Linked DNA regions of Homo sapiens: region 2 is linked to region 1. Evidence: promoter capture Hi-C in human tissues and cell types (Jung and others, 2019). All regions are on one chromosome and are shown on one strand. The core of a region is centred on a gene start or on the middle of the fragment in contact, and the rest is flanking DNA. Distances in the headings are between cores, read along the strand shown.

Region 1 (7,595 bases), core at 1,744-4,243:
AAGGGGGAAGCAGATTGACAGAATTCTGGTGGACAAGGGAGGTGAAATTAGCAAGGGAGGCGGAGAGAGGGTAGCAAAGAGTGGTGGCTACGGCAGTGTTTGGAGACTAAGGGGAGACTGGGGTCTTGGGGGACCCTTGGGGAGACACCTTAGCAGAAGAAGAGCTTCCTTTTCCTCTCCCAGTTTCCAGAAAGAGGGTCTGAGGCTCTGGGGCTGCAAGGATTCTATTGAACTTAGAGGTTATTGGAAGAAATGGAGGGGGATGGGAGTCTTGAACTCTTCAGAGAAGCAACACTTGAAGGATTCGATGTTGTTTAGCTGGGAGAAAAGAAGATTCGATGTTGTGTAGCCGGGTGGGTGAGCTTGGCATAATAGAGGGAGTGAGAGCATGGGCTTTGGATGGAGTCAGTCCGGCCTTGGAACAAATCCTGATTCTTCCAATACTCCAGTGACCTTGGGCTGGTTGCTTTACTTCTCTGATCTTATTTCCTTATCGAAGAAATAGGAATAATAATAATTCCTACATCTTAGAGATGTTTCAAGTATTGAATGGGATAATATACACAAAACTCTTAGCACACTTCCTTGTTAGTTCTCATTAAATGGTATTATTTATTATTAAAATGATTGTCTTTAGATGTTTTAAGGGTTGTCATGTGGAAATAAGAACCCACGTACCTGTGCTGCTCCACCAGGCTGAACAAGTTAGAGGGAGACAAGTTTGACTGGCAGGGAGGCAGAAGGCCCCATCTAAGCCACCAGGGCCTGGAGGAAGCTACCTTATGCAGAAGGAGTTCTCTGCTGATGGAGGGATCCAGGCAAAAACTGTCTGGGGGCTCTTTCCAAATCAATGCTTCAGAATCCTGGGTTGTTCTGAAATTATGCATCAGTCTATAAGTGAAAGATTCTGTGATTCCACTTGAAGGAAAAGGGCCCCTGGGACAGGAGAGAAGGAGCTAACAGGAGAAAGAATAAGTGCTTTGCTAATCTAGAGCCTTATAATCTGAGGCCTCAACTGTTCTGTCTCCTTGGGTAAGGGAGGACTTGCGGAGGGCTCTATGGAGGCTGTCCTGACCCTCTTCCTACCCCCCTGTGAAGGAACTCCATATTCTGTGTAGGAAGTTTGGGAGTGAAGGGGGACATTGTTTTTTTGATAAGACCCTTTCCCACCCCCTATAAAAGAAAGTCCCCATTTTGGAGTCCCCCTACCTGAACATGTGTTGAGAAGGCCTTTCTGCGCTATAGCTTCAGGCTTCTTTACTTCAGGCTTCTTCACTTCAGGCTTCCTCACTTCAGGCTTCCTCTGATGCTGGGTTAGGTTCTGTGGGCAGGTGATCTTCTCCTCACTTCTTCAGGAATCCTGTAGAGGTGAGCGGGGAGAGCACTGGGCTTTTGAGCAAGAAGGCTTCTCAGCCCCTCCCAGCATCCTTTTCTTCTAACCACTCTGGGAAAAGGTGACCCTTATCGGCTGCCCCATCCCTGTGCCCATTTCCATTAGAGGGGAGGACTTTGCTCCCTACCTCACACGGGGGTGGGTGTCAGAGTGAACCCTTCTAGCCTCTCGCTGTTCCTTACTTGCTCTTTTCTAGGAAAAAAAAAGTAGCTAATTTTACTGATCATTCATTCATTTGTTTATTCAATTCACTCATGAATTCAATTCAAATTCATTCATCGAACTTCAACTCTTTGCCCAGTAATTACTGTTCAAGGTACTGGAGAGAAAATAGTGAATAATAATGATTGATACGTTCCCAGGTTTCATGGAGCTTACATTTTTGTGAGGTAAAAAAGTATATAAACAAGTGAATAAATGTAAAAGTAGGAACATTTCAGAGCATAGGAAATGCAATGAGGGGAATAAACAAGGCGAGGTGACAGAAGTAACTGGGGGGAGGATGGGTGGGAGTGGCCAGGGAAGCTCTCTGATAAGATGACATTTGAACCAAGACCTGAAGGGTGAGAGGGAGTCAGCTATGCAGACAGCAAGAGGAAGAGGATTCTAAGCAGAGTGAACAAGGATGAAACTGGGAAAGAGGCTGGTGTGTCCAAGGACCGTGAAGGGCGCCAGCATGGTCACGCTGTATTGGGCAGGAGAGCGGAATGAGATGAGGTTGGGGGGATATTTGGAAGCCAGACCACACAGGGCCTTGTAGACCCTGCTAGAGAGTTTGGATTTTATTTGAAGTGTAATGGGAACCACCTGATAATTTTAAGGAGCAGACCTGATCTGATATATACTTTGAAAAGACCACTTGTCTAGTTACTGACGGAGCCTGGATTGTATGGGCTTAGAGTGGAGGCAGAGAGCTTACTCAGAAAGCCATTGCAGAGGTTCAGGTGGTCAACAGTGGAAGTGGAAACAGGGTGGTGGCAGAGAGATGGGGAGAGAGGGGTGAAGTCAGGATATATTTCAGAGATAGAATCTGTAGGCTTGTTGGTGAATTAATTGTGGGGATTGAGGGAAAGGCAGAAATCAAGATTGACTCTTAGGTTTTTGGTTTGACTAATTGAGTATATGGGGGTGATACTTAACGAGACAGGAAGATGAGATGAAGAGGTCTATTAAGGCATTAGTCCAGGGGTAGTAACAAGATTGTAATGGCATGGCTTCAACAGAACAGAAGTTAAACAGAGATAATATGGTGGCTCCACAATATTCTGGACATTCTATCTCGTTACCCTTTCTTTTCAATATGTAGCTTCCATTTAGTGGCCTAAGAGGGCTGCTCTAGCTCCCATGCCTTTATCTCATTCCAGTCAGCGTGAAGGATTTAGAAAGGAGAAAGGGAGGACACACTCTTTCTGTCAAGGGCACCACCTGTCATTTGCCCTTATTGTATTTGTTCATATCCTCCTGTCCAAAACCTAGTCACTTGGCCACATCTGTCTGTAAGGAAGCTTGGGAAATGAAGTTATTAGCTACATGGAAAAAATGGCAGGGTCAGTGAATCGGAGGTCTGGATCAGGTCAAAGAATTGTTACAACTGGACTTCTACTGTAATGGAGATGGAAGGGCAGGAAATTGTGGCCAGACGTGGGATTCTTGAATTTAGGATTTTGGAAGTGGCTGTGGTGGCGCGTAGGCTGAGGTACAAAGGTTAAGAACTGAGAAGTCAGAGTGTTGGGGGGTCATCGGCATGAACACTGACAGTCCTCAAAAAAGGACAGGAGCAAGTGGGAAGAGGAAGACCAGGTGCTGAGGTTAGGGGCTCCCTGTAAGGGAGAGGGGTTGGTAGGAGGGCGCAGCATGTATTCTGAGCTTCAAAGAAGGGGAGATTTTGGAGTAGAACGGAAGAGGAATGGTTTAGAAGTGGCAGTGGAGAACAAGGAGGAAAATCCTTCTTCCCACCTTCGGATTCTGAGGCGGTTGGTGGCTAAAGGAGAAAGCAGTTTCCACTTGAGAGTGAAATAGAGGTTGTCAGAGTCTCAGAAAATCTGAAATTATTATTATTATTATTTTTTAAAGGACAGGTTCTTACTCTCTCACCCAGGCTGGAGTACAGTGGCATGATTGTAGCTCACTGCAGCCTTGAACTCCTGGGCTTAAGTGATCCTCCCACCTCAGCCTCTGAAGTAGCTGGGGCTACAGGCACGTGCCACCATGCCCAGCTAATTGTTTTTATTTTAGAGACAGGGTCTTGCTATGTTGCCTAGTCTGGTCTTGAAAACCTAGCCTCAAGCGTTCCTCCCACCTTGGCCTCCCAAAGCTCTAGAATTACAGGCATGAGCCACCACACCTGGCCTTAAAATGTTATTTTAGATTAGGCAATATCAGTTGAAAGATGGGAGAAGAAAGAAGAAAAAACGGGTATCAGTTGAAAGTTGGGAGAAGAAAGAAAAAAAAGGGAGATTAAGCAATAGAGAGAAAATTCAAAACAAGACATTGGGAATACCAAGGAATTTACTGACCACTGATCAGGAGTTCTAGAGGGCATAGTAAAAGGGTTTGGCAGAGAGAGACTGGGCAGAGAGAATTGGGCTAGATTTGGGGCTGACAGAGCCAAACAGGGTAGGGGTTCTGGATGACAAATATATCTGAAAGCTTTGGCTTGGTCCTGGAAGTGACTGTGGTCAACAGAGAGACAGAACCCAAGGATCTTGGTTGCCCACCTTTCTACAAGAGGAATCAGGACAAGGAATAGACCTTGGTGCCTACCTGAATGGTTTCAAGGCCTTTGGTGACTGATTCCTATGGCTTAAGGGGGGATGTGAGTGGTGGCTAATCCCATGGGAGATGTGTGGGAGCAGAATAACTAATGGCCCCACAAAGAGGTCCACGTCGGAAATCACAGAACCTGTAAGTGTGTTGGGTTACACTGGCAACAGAGAATTAAGGTTGCAGATTGAACTGAGGTTGCTAATCAGCTGGTCTTAAAATAGGGAAATTCTCCTAGATTATCTGGGTGGGCCTGGTATAATCTCAAGCATCCCTAAATGTGGACAAAGGATTCCAAAGAGATAACTAGACTGATGGCAGGGTGAGAAGCCTTGGCCGGATGGGGCTGGCTTTGAAAATGGAGGAATGGGGCCATGGGCCAAAGACTGTGGACAGCCTTTAGAAGCTGGAAAGGGCAAGGAAATGAATTCTCCCCTAGAGACTCCAGAAAGGAACGCAGCCCTGCCTGCTGACATGCCTTGATTTTAGCCCAGTGAGACCCATCTGGAACTCCTGAACTACAGAACTGTAAAATAATTAATTTGTGTTGTTTTAAGCTGGTAAATTTGTGGTAATTTGTAATTAGAAAACTAATACAAGATGAAAGGCTCTCTTCTGGGTGACTGCTCCTTCCCACAGGGTGAGATGCTATGACAGCTGGTGAGACAGAACATTTATTACACCACGTTTCACCAGGGGGCGGAGTTAATGCATCAACAGGAATGTTCCTCAACAGCTTTGCCTCTTTCCCTCCTGCCCTCTCTCATGAGGGTGCACACTTGGACAGGACTTCACCTTCCCACCTCTTCCCTGGGGGATGCATGCTGTTTCTCTCACCGTTTAGTGGCTCAGGCAGGACAGAGAGAAGGCCCCTTTTGGGCTTGTGTCTCGATAGCATTCTCCAGCTCAGCCTTGCCAGAGAGGTCAGAGTGCTGTGGGTTCCCCGGCACTTGTCTGGCTGTTAATACAATCGATGTTTTGGTTTCCTTTTTGCTCCTTGTTCTCTGGACACCTTCTCCATTGGCCAGACTCAGAGGGGCAGAGGGATGACGTGCTGGTGGCCCTCCCTGGAGCTGTGATGGTGAAGTCAAAGACTGGCCTTGGGGGACCCAAATACAGTGGATTTTAACAGCAAACACTCTAAAGGTAACTCTGACCTGCAGCTGCGTGGGTGCAGCTGAGGCTGGAATGAAATTATCCCAATTCCACTTGGGTACAGAGCATAAGGCTGTGAAATTTTGGCTTCAGATGATGTGTGTTAATATTTAGTAGGTGATGCTAGGTTGGCTGTCCAACTGATTGTCTAGTTTGGTTTCTTTTATGTTGTTGTTCACTTTTTTCCTAGTTTTCATTTAACACGTTTCTCTTGTTCTTTTTTCTCACCCACAGATGCAGGTCCCAATGTGTGCTTTGTTTTGAACTGCATTTAGGGTGGCAGGAAGACTCAGGAGGGATTTTGTTTATGGCCTGATCACAGGCTCCTGGGATTATTTCCTACCACGTAGTCTCAAAGTGGCTTGGGGTTGTACATTTATGAAGCTCCAGCCAGGGTTTCAGATTTCAGAGTCCCACTGTGGGATTAACCACAGAGGTGTGGTCGACTTCATACAGATAAAAATAATGGGATCCTTTATGTGGAGGAAATGTCACTGGGTGAAAGTGAAGAAAAACTCCATGGAATTACTATAAACTTGAAGAGTATGGGAGAAATGAACAAGTCCTGTACCTGGAAAACTCTTTAGAAATCATATTTTCCTAAGAATCAGGGAAACGTGGGGTTCATATAAGGTACAAGTCTTGGTCTTATAGTGAGACAAGTCAGACAGAAAGGGAAAAGAAAAAAGAGGGCAGTTCTGTTGATTGAGTTGGGAGAAAAGATGAGATTTTCTCAGGAGAAAGTTTGAGTTCATAGAGCCCATGCTTGAGATACATTAAAAGAGAAGGGAAATGGCTCTATGCCTAGATAGTTTTAAGGATGGAACTAGAAGAGAGCAGAATATTTATTTATTTCTAGATCACGGAGGGTGAATGGGGCCTGGAGAGATTTAACAACGATGCAAAACAGTTTGAGGCCGCTAGAGGGAGCGTTGACCCAGTCACTTGCACAGAGTGAGGGAAGACGAACAGGAAGTTTAGTGGTGAAACATTATTAGGTAAGTTTCAAAGGAATGCAGGTTTTTTTTTTTTTTAATGGGGGTTTGGGGGCTGTTATTGCCCATGTCCTGAGGAAGCATGCCACAGAATTACTGAGAAGATGAAATACACTCTAAAGGGAATTCATGCGTGAAATAAATAGATCTAGTCACGTCTGAGATTCTATGTTTTCTAAAAATTTTTAATTTTTTAATTGACAAATCATAGTTGTATACATTTAAGGGGTACAATGTGATGTTTCGATATATGTATACATTGTGGTATGATTGAATCAAGCTTAAACTTCTAAATATCATAAGATGATAGAAATATCCTAAGCCCCCACTTTGAAAGAAGAGGCTGTATACATGACCCCACCCTCTGAAGGCAAACTTAATGCCAACATTAGTCACTCCACGAGAGATTTCTCCCACTTGTGAAGTCAAGGCTTTCTCTCTTCTTGCAGATACCACTTAGTTTCTGCCACAGTATGATGCTGGCATTAGCCATGGGATTCCTGCACAGCTCAAGTGCCCCATGTGTCTTTTGAGCCTTGAGGAGGAGACTGACATGGAGATGCCTTGCCATCCCCTCTTCCAACGCAACTGAACCTTCCCTGGTTAAGCAAGACAAATTCCTCCCGCTATGCTGCCGTGAGCTGCTCACTGATAATGACATGTAGGAGGAACACAGATGAGATGAGGCCCACAAGCAGCAGCAGAAGTGTGGCTGGAGAACCTGCATGGAGCCAGGTATACCTGAGGCACTGCGGCTGAGCGCTGGCCCTCCATGACATCTCTCTCTGCACCTTGAACCTGTGTAGAAGGTTTTTTTCTTCCACCTTCTACCCCTGCAAAACAAACAAACAAACAAACAAACAAACAAAACAACCCTTAAAAGCCCCACAAAAAACCATGCACTAGGGCCTGGGCACATAATTGCTCTGGGGCCTGAGAATGTGCTTGTGTTTCTGAGTTTGGTTGGTGCAGAGCTGGTGCATGGTATTTCGTGTATCCTAGTTACTCTAACTTTGAAAAGGAGGGACCCATGAGCTCCTTGGGGTTGGATTAAGTCAACCTTGTAGATGCCAGAGGAACTACTCACATTTCAGGGGGAAAAAGACCAGGAGGGAGCCAGTCCCCTGCCTCCAGGCATAGCAGCCTTTCCCCTGACTCCCAGGGAACATGCCCCATGCTGGTGGCTCTGTGTCCTCCTCATCCTCTACAGATTTGTGAGGCTTCACCATGATCCTTCTTGTAGTCACACCTTAGAGACCTAGGCGGTGGCTCACCCCGGGCCAGAGAGA
Region 2 (6,902 bases), core at 1,760-4,259, 48 kb after region 1:
CCTAAGGTGAAGTGGTTTTGCTGAAGGAACCAACTTCTCTGTCATGGGAAGGTTGGTAGGCCAGTATTAGCTGCAAAACCTATGGCCCAGAAACCCTGTATGTAGAAGCAGGTGTGCACCCCAAGCCCTCCCTAGGAATATGGGTGTAGCTGTGTCCCTGTGCTTGTGCCTGTGAGGGCAGACTGGCCCCCAGATATCTTGCTGTTTCATGCATCAGAATTCTATACCAGGCATTGGGAAAGAGGCTTACCCAGAAGGCTGGATCTCTGCTTCCTTGGCTTTGGTGCCTGTCTGGCTAACCCTGGGTCTTCACCTGCATTTTCCTTTTGAGCTGCTGATGCTTCATGGCAAGCTGCAAGGGTAAGGGAGTGAGAGGAATAATAGCTATTTCACTCTTTCCACCCTGGTCGGGGAGCAGGTGGTGCTTTTACCCCCTCAAGGTCTGGCTTGAGGATAGCTCCCTCTCTCCCAATTCCTCTAGAGCTTGACTTTCATGATGTGTTAGGTTCTTTAGCATCCCTCAAGCTTTTTCCTGCTGCCTCCAAGACTTTTCCTGCTCCTCCAGGGCCCTTTTCTAGAGTAGATTATGGTTCAGGGAAAAGTAAAGTCATTTTGGCAGAAAGATCACCTTAAAGAGACTCCCCCTAGTTTTCATCCCTTATACCAGCCCCCTAGTGTGGGGAGGTTTTGCAGAGGGCACTAGCTTCTCTCTTCTAGGCAGGTTGGTGGATGAGGACAGAAATTTGGCAGTCTCTGAAGGGGGCTTCTGTAGCTGTAAACAATCCATTTGTTTATCTGGAAAATCAAAACTTCTGTTATTGCATTGGTGTGAAACGCTCCAGGGGCATCTGAGAAGACACCAAGGTGCCCGGTGTTCCCTCTGGGCTTTATGTGAGAAGGCAGGGAGGGTGCAGGTGTGTGCTGTGGTTGGGGCTCGCAGTGCAGTGAAGATGTGCAGAAATACAGTTTATCTTTCTGCCGTTAATTATCCAGAGTGTGTACATGGCTGGGGAAGTAGAAATGAATGAGAATTAGATCTCTCTCTCAGGGGCTTACAGTCTAGGAAAAGAGACAAAACTGCTATATATGGGAAGCCCAGAAGAGGGAGGGATGAAAGGAGAGACTGGGACAGAGGCACCATACACACCAGGCAGGGAGGGCTTCAGAGAGCAGCTGGGACTTGAAGCTTGTTAGAGCACGGACAGGTAGGGGTTGAAAAGGTACCCAGGAAGAGGAACGTTGGGTAGTAGAAAGTTACTCATGCTGTCTGATGAAACAAATGTATAACGTTTGATGTGGAGAATGCAAGCAGTGGAGTCTAGGGAAATTATATTTGAAAAGTACCCTGGATCTAGATCATGGATACCCTGAATGTCAGGCTAGGAGGTGAGAGTTTCGTGATGAGAAATGGGAAACCACGTGAAAGGTTTTTGAATTGAAATTGTTGGTGAAGGTGGGGCAGATGAAAACCTCTGAACCCATCTAATGTGAAGTTCCTCCTCTTGCTCAAGAAAAGTATTCTTTTCTTTCCCATTTTTCTTACTCCACTTCTACTTCCAGACAGGGCCACCCTTTCCCCCATGCTCTGTCCTTCTCCAGTGCATGAGTCTCTCAGGAAGTCTCCCTTCTCCATGTCTCCTAAAAGTCGGCCTCCCAACTCTCCTTCCCCGGACCCCCCTTCTGCTTCTCTGACTTCCTCCACTCATATCCCAAGTCATTAACCCTCCCACCCAGGACTGGGGCAGGAGGAAGAGAAAGGACTCACGGTTCCCCGATCCTGGGGCAGAGGCGGCCTCTGGATCATCTGCAAAGGAGGGAACAGTGACCATGTCAAGTAGGGCACAGTTGCATGAGCTGTATCCAGCCAGGGCTGCCTAGAATTCCCAGGCCTCTAATCTCAGGAGTGTGGCAGTGGACAGACAGGAGAGAAATCTCTGCTTCACAAGGGGCCCACTAGAAATGCTTTTTGGTATCTCAACCAAATCCCTCTCTCTGTTATCCTCCCTAGACCTAGGCTACTCAGAACATCCCTATGGAAATGGAATCATTCTCTGACTCTCTTCTATGTCTTAGATGTCCAAGTTTCATAATGAAAGTTGAAGGGGCATGACCACGAGGGCATGACCACAGCACCTGCTCTAGTGACAGGGCAGGAGTTGTTCTGATTGTCACCTGATAGAATGACCTCAGAAGGACCTTCCCTCCATTTCTTTATTCTTCCAAAAGCATGAATGAAGCACGCATTATGCACCAGACATGGTGTTAGAGGCTAGAGATACAGCTGTGAGGAAGACAGACAGTGTAATTGCTCGGGGAAGCTGACAGTCAATGGGGGATTTGGAGGAATTAACATAATTACATAAACAATTATTTAATTACATTTGTGATAGTGCTAGGAAGGAAAAATACAGGAGGCAAGAAAATGCAAAATAGGGGCCAAAATGATTCTGGGGCTTCAGCAAGCCTGCTGTGAGGAAATACATGGACACAGAGAGCTAGCAGGGCGGACACTTGGAAATTGAGTAGGAAGGAGGTTGACGTGGGTGGGTGAAATAATGGGCAGGGGAAAAGACAAGAGGATGTGCAAAAGTCTTGGCAGTGGGAAATGGCTTGGTTCATTGAGGGGAAAAAGAATGCCAGAGTGGTTGGAGCAGAGTGGGCCAATCACAGACTGAGAGGAGAGGCAATGGAGAGCCAGGCTGGGGCCACAGGGCTCCTGGCTTCCTCTGACCATAGAGTCCCTGTGTGGAGAACCTAGTGGGAGGCAGGAGTGGGCTACAGAGACAGACTTGGGTGAACTGCCTCTGGCGAGGAGGGGAAGGGGAAATGAAGGCAGGGCCCAGTCTTCAGGGGACTATATGGTTGGGTGTCGGGGAAGAGCCATACTCACAGGCACAGACCAGGGCTCCTGCCAGAGCTGTCAGGAAGAGGAGAGTCATGAACCTCATGCTTCTGTGTGCTGGAGTGGGTATGCCACCAAATCCTTGGAGATCTTGGGATCTAGGGTGTCAAGACTGCCTCTCTGGGCCTTTTTTTAAGCATGACAGGGACCAATGGGAACCAGTCTTCCAGTGGTGTGTTCTCCTCCTCCTCTTCTCCCACCTCAGAGCCACCTGTTAAGTCAACAAAGGCTGGCTGGGGCTGGCTGGTGCCCGCCTTCCCTGCAGGTAGGTCCTGGACAGCAGCTCTGGAGTTGGCACTGTCCTGACTGGCATCCTTTTCCTGCCTCTCCCCTTCCCATCTCGCTTGTCCCTGGGCTCCCATCTCTGATTGCATCTGGGGTCCTGGGGAAGACTGTGAGAGGTTTCTGGAGAGGGCCCTGGCAGGAGGGCTGTGCCCAGAAGGCTCTCCTTCCACCTGGAAACAGAAGGGGGGCCCAAGATGTCAGATCCAGCCTCCTTAGGAGAGAGTGGGGGTGGCTGAGGCTTCCCTTGAGTGGGTTAAGCCCACCCTAGGGGGCTGCCCTCACAGCATTTGGGGATCCCACCTGACTAAGGTCCAGAGAGGCTGATGTCCTCTCTAGGGGTCTCCATGTGGTAACCAGAGCTTCCCAGCCTCAGTAGGCCCTGACCAGGGTGTCTTCAGTCCCAGCTAATGATCCTCTACCCCAGAAAATTCTCCTGGTAAGTTAACCAGAATATGAAGTCAGTTCCCAGTTTGCCCTTCATATAGGGGAGGGAGGCCAGTGGTGTGGATAATCCAGAGAAGTGGAGAATCCAAAGGTGCTTCTCTCTGCCTCAGAATCCCTTCCTGCGGACTTGTGTTTTCTTCGAAATGGCAGAAAGTCCTGGAGATGTGGGTTTATGACTCGATTTTGTTGTTTACTAGCTGTGTGGCCTTCAGAGAGGCAATTTACCTGCCCCACTTCAATTGTTTTTCTTTCTTCTTTTATTTTATGGTAATATTTAAGGTGTAACATGAAGTTTTGATATACATGTATTTAGTGAAATGGTTACTATAATCAAGCAAATGAACACATCCATGATTTTACATAATTAGCCTTTTGTGTGTGTGTCTCTCTGTATGTGTGTGTGTGTGTGTGTGTGTATGTGTAAGAGCACCCAAAATCTGCTCTTCCAGCAAAAATCCCAAATTCAATACAGTATTATTGACTCCAGCTCTTGTGTTCCACTTCAGCTGTTTTGCATTTGATGGTGAGAAATGATCATTTTAATCCTACAGGTTTCGTGTGAGGAATACATGTGTCAAAACTGGTCAGCTCCCTCCTCCATCTATTCCAGACCCAAGCTGGGGAGCTGAGGATAACTTGGAACCTTAGTTTCTGCTCCTCACAAAGCCAGTTACTTCCTTGAGATGTCTTCTCTCCACGGAGTGGAGCCTGCCCTTGCCCTGTTCCTGGGACCTTGGTGAAAATGGACTGAGATTTGTTTCCTGAGGTGCTCTGTCTGTGCCAGACACCGTGTTGGACCCAGACAGATAAAGATGAGTAGACTGTGGTCTTGCCTTGAGGGGATACACAGTAGGCAAGGATCTCAGACAGATGAAGGGACAATTGATGGTAGCAGGGGACTCTGTCCTGGTAGACAAAGCATGCTCTTCCTAGCCTATGGGATTGAAGCAAAGTTGTGCTCCACCACTTAGAGGCTGAATGATTTTGGCATGTCACATAATCTCTCTGACTCTCATCTCCACAGTGTGACCCAGGGTACTTGTGAAATTCGAACAGGAATAGCTCAGATCCACTTTCTGGGTCAACTTTCTGGGGCTCTTCCCTGTTCTCTGGATGTCTACCTCTCACCTCCATGGGAACTCAGTCCATCTGAGCTCTCACCATCTCTCCTGTTGTGTGGTTCATTGTGAGACTTTCTTGGCTTTTTTCCTTCAACATACAGACATCTTAAAAATAAGCAAAATGTTCCCTTTATACTCTCCCTATCTAGCTTCTTTCCAATCCTTCTGCAACCAAGCTTTTTGAAAACAACTCCATTTTTTTTTTGGCCTCAACATCCGTGTTTTGCTTTATGTTCTTATCACCCTGTAATGTTTGCACCACCATCCCTGGAACCGAGATACATCCTTGCCAAGGTACTCGGATACAGTCGCCACTTTTCAGCCTTTATCTTATCTGATCTCGGTGGGCTCTGACACTGTTAGAGCCACTCATCTTTTGAGGTGCTGGGGTTTTCTTTCTTTCTCTCCTTTTTTGGGCCACCCTTCAGTCCCACTTTGACTCACCTTGCCTGCCCCTTTGATATTCTCCAGTGTTCTATTCTTAGCCTTTTTCTTCTCTCCTCTTACAAACTCTCCTGTGTGACTCATTCTTGGAGTCACACTTCCTGGCTCCCACATCTTCATTCCGGCCCAGACCTCTCTCCTGAACACTAATATCCACTAATGGATGGGCAGTAATGCACTGATGAACCCTAGGGGTTGCAACTGGCCTCACCTACGTTCCCCACATCTTCCCCATCACCTGCTCCTCCTCCTGCACCATTTTCCATTCTGATTAACAGTATTGACATTCACCCAGTTATCTAAATAGAGATCTGAGAGTAATTTTACATTTTTCCTCCTCTTGGCCCCCTATGTACAAGGACACCGGGGTCTATGAAGTTCTGCCTCTTTGTCAATCCCAGGGCTCTGGCTCAGAAGCCTCTGCCTGGGGGCCTTGCCATTTTTTATGTTCACTGAAGAAACAGCTTCACAAATGGTTTTCCCTCTGACAGTCTCAAGTTCAAACTCCCAGCTGTCTAAGTGATTTATAGTAGACAAACTATGTGCAGAGCACACACCATCTTTCATGAGCTGGCTTCTGTCCGTCCCTTCAGTTTCAACCCTTCTCATTCCCTCATCAAGACTCTGCCTCAGTCACATTAAATTTCTTTCAGTTTCTTGCATAGATTTAATTTTTTCTTGCTTCTGCCTCTTCACGTATTTTCCTCCGTGTATTGTCTTTAATGCCCTCCTACGATTAGATGACAGAGCTTTTTCCTACTCATCCTTTAAGATTCAGATCAGAAATACCTTCTTCCTGGAAGATTTTCTTTTTTTCTTTTCTTTTTTCTTGAGACGGAGTCACGCTCTGTCACCAGGCTGGAGTGCAGTGGTGCAATCTCAGCTCATTGCAACCTCCGCCTCCCAGGTTCAAGCGATTCTCCTGCCTCAGCCTCTCAAGTAGCTGGGACTACAGGCACCCACCACCACCCCTGGCTAATTTTTGTAGTTTTAGTAGAGATGGGGTTTCACCATGTTGGCCAGGATGGTCTTGATGGTCTCGATGTCTTGACCTCGTGATCCGCTCACCTCGGCTCCCAAAGTGCTGCAGTTACAGGCTTGAGCCAGTGGGCCCAGCCCCTGGAAGATTTTCTGGGCATTCTTCTTGTCTTCCTTCCTCTCCCCACCAAAGTGAAGTCAGAGTTCTGGGCTATGCACTTCCACCAGCCCCTTGCTCTTCTCTTTATCTGTGCATCACCTCGATGGTATTGGGATTGTCTGTTTAGTGCTTGGTTTTCCACACTAGACTTCAGCTGTGCAGTGCAGGACCATGTTTAATTTGTCTGTGCACCCCAGCCCCAGTGAGGATGCCAGACACACAGTTAGAATGCAGTAACTTTTGGTGAAGTGCAGCTAGAAACCTACAAGTGAGTGGGGCTAGAAACCTTCAGAATTTGGGCAAGAGATGTGGACTGGTGGATAAAGCTTAGATTAGACTAATAACATTAATCTGTTGGAAAGAGATATGCCAAGCTGCTTTTTAAGAAACTATTTAATATTTGTTTGTAGTTTTTTTCTTTGAGGTAAAACTTACATACAATGAAACTATACAATGAAACATACATATTAACTGTATTTTTTCGTCTTGTCAAATGCATCTACTGATGTAACCCAGACTCCAATCAAGATATGAAGCATTACCAGTAACCCAGAAAATTTCCTCCTGC

Evidence for each region. The method cuts DNA at HindIII sites, captures the fragments that hold promoters and counts their contacts. A contact is called where the count stands out against the background at its distance.
Region 2: a contact is called between the fragment with the promoter of DCD here and a fragment that was not itself captured in region 1, in 1 of the 25 tissues and cell types used here (hippocampus).

Annotation. Positions count from the first base shown.
Region 1 is chr12:54,597,143-54,604,737 of GRCh38, forward strand. No RefSeq gene overlaps it. Among named protein-coding and RNA genes, the nearest start is that of PPP1R1A, 12 kb to the left of the region's middle. The HindIII fragment of the contact is 4,642 bases long and covers 673-5,314 here.
Region 2 is chr12:54,645,356-54,652,257 of GRCh38, forward strand. DCD (dermcidin) reads right to left here and starts at 3,010. Exons shown (of 5, transcript NM_053283.4): 1 at 2,891-3,010; 2 at 1,766-1,804; 3 at 251-352. The coding sequence starts at 2,948. The HindIII fragment of the contact is 4,939 bases long and covers 856-5,794 here.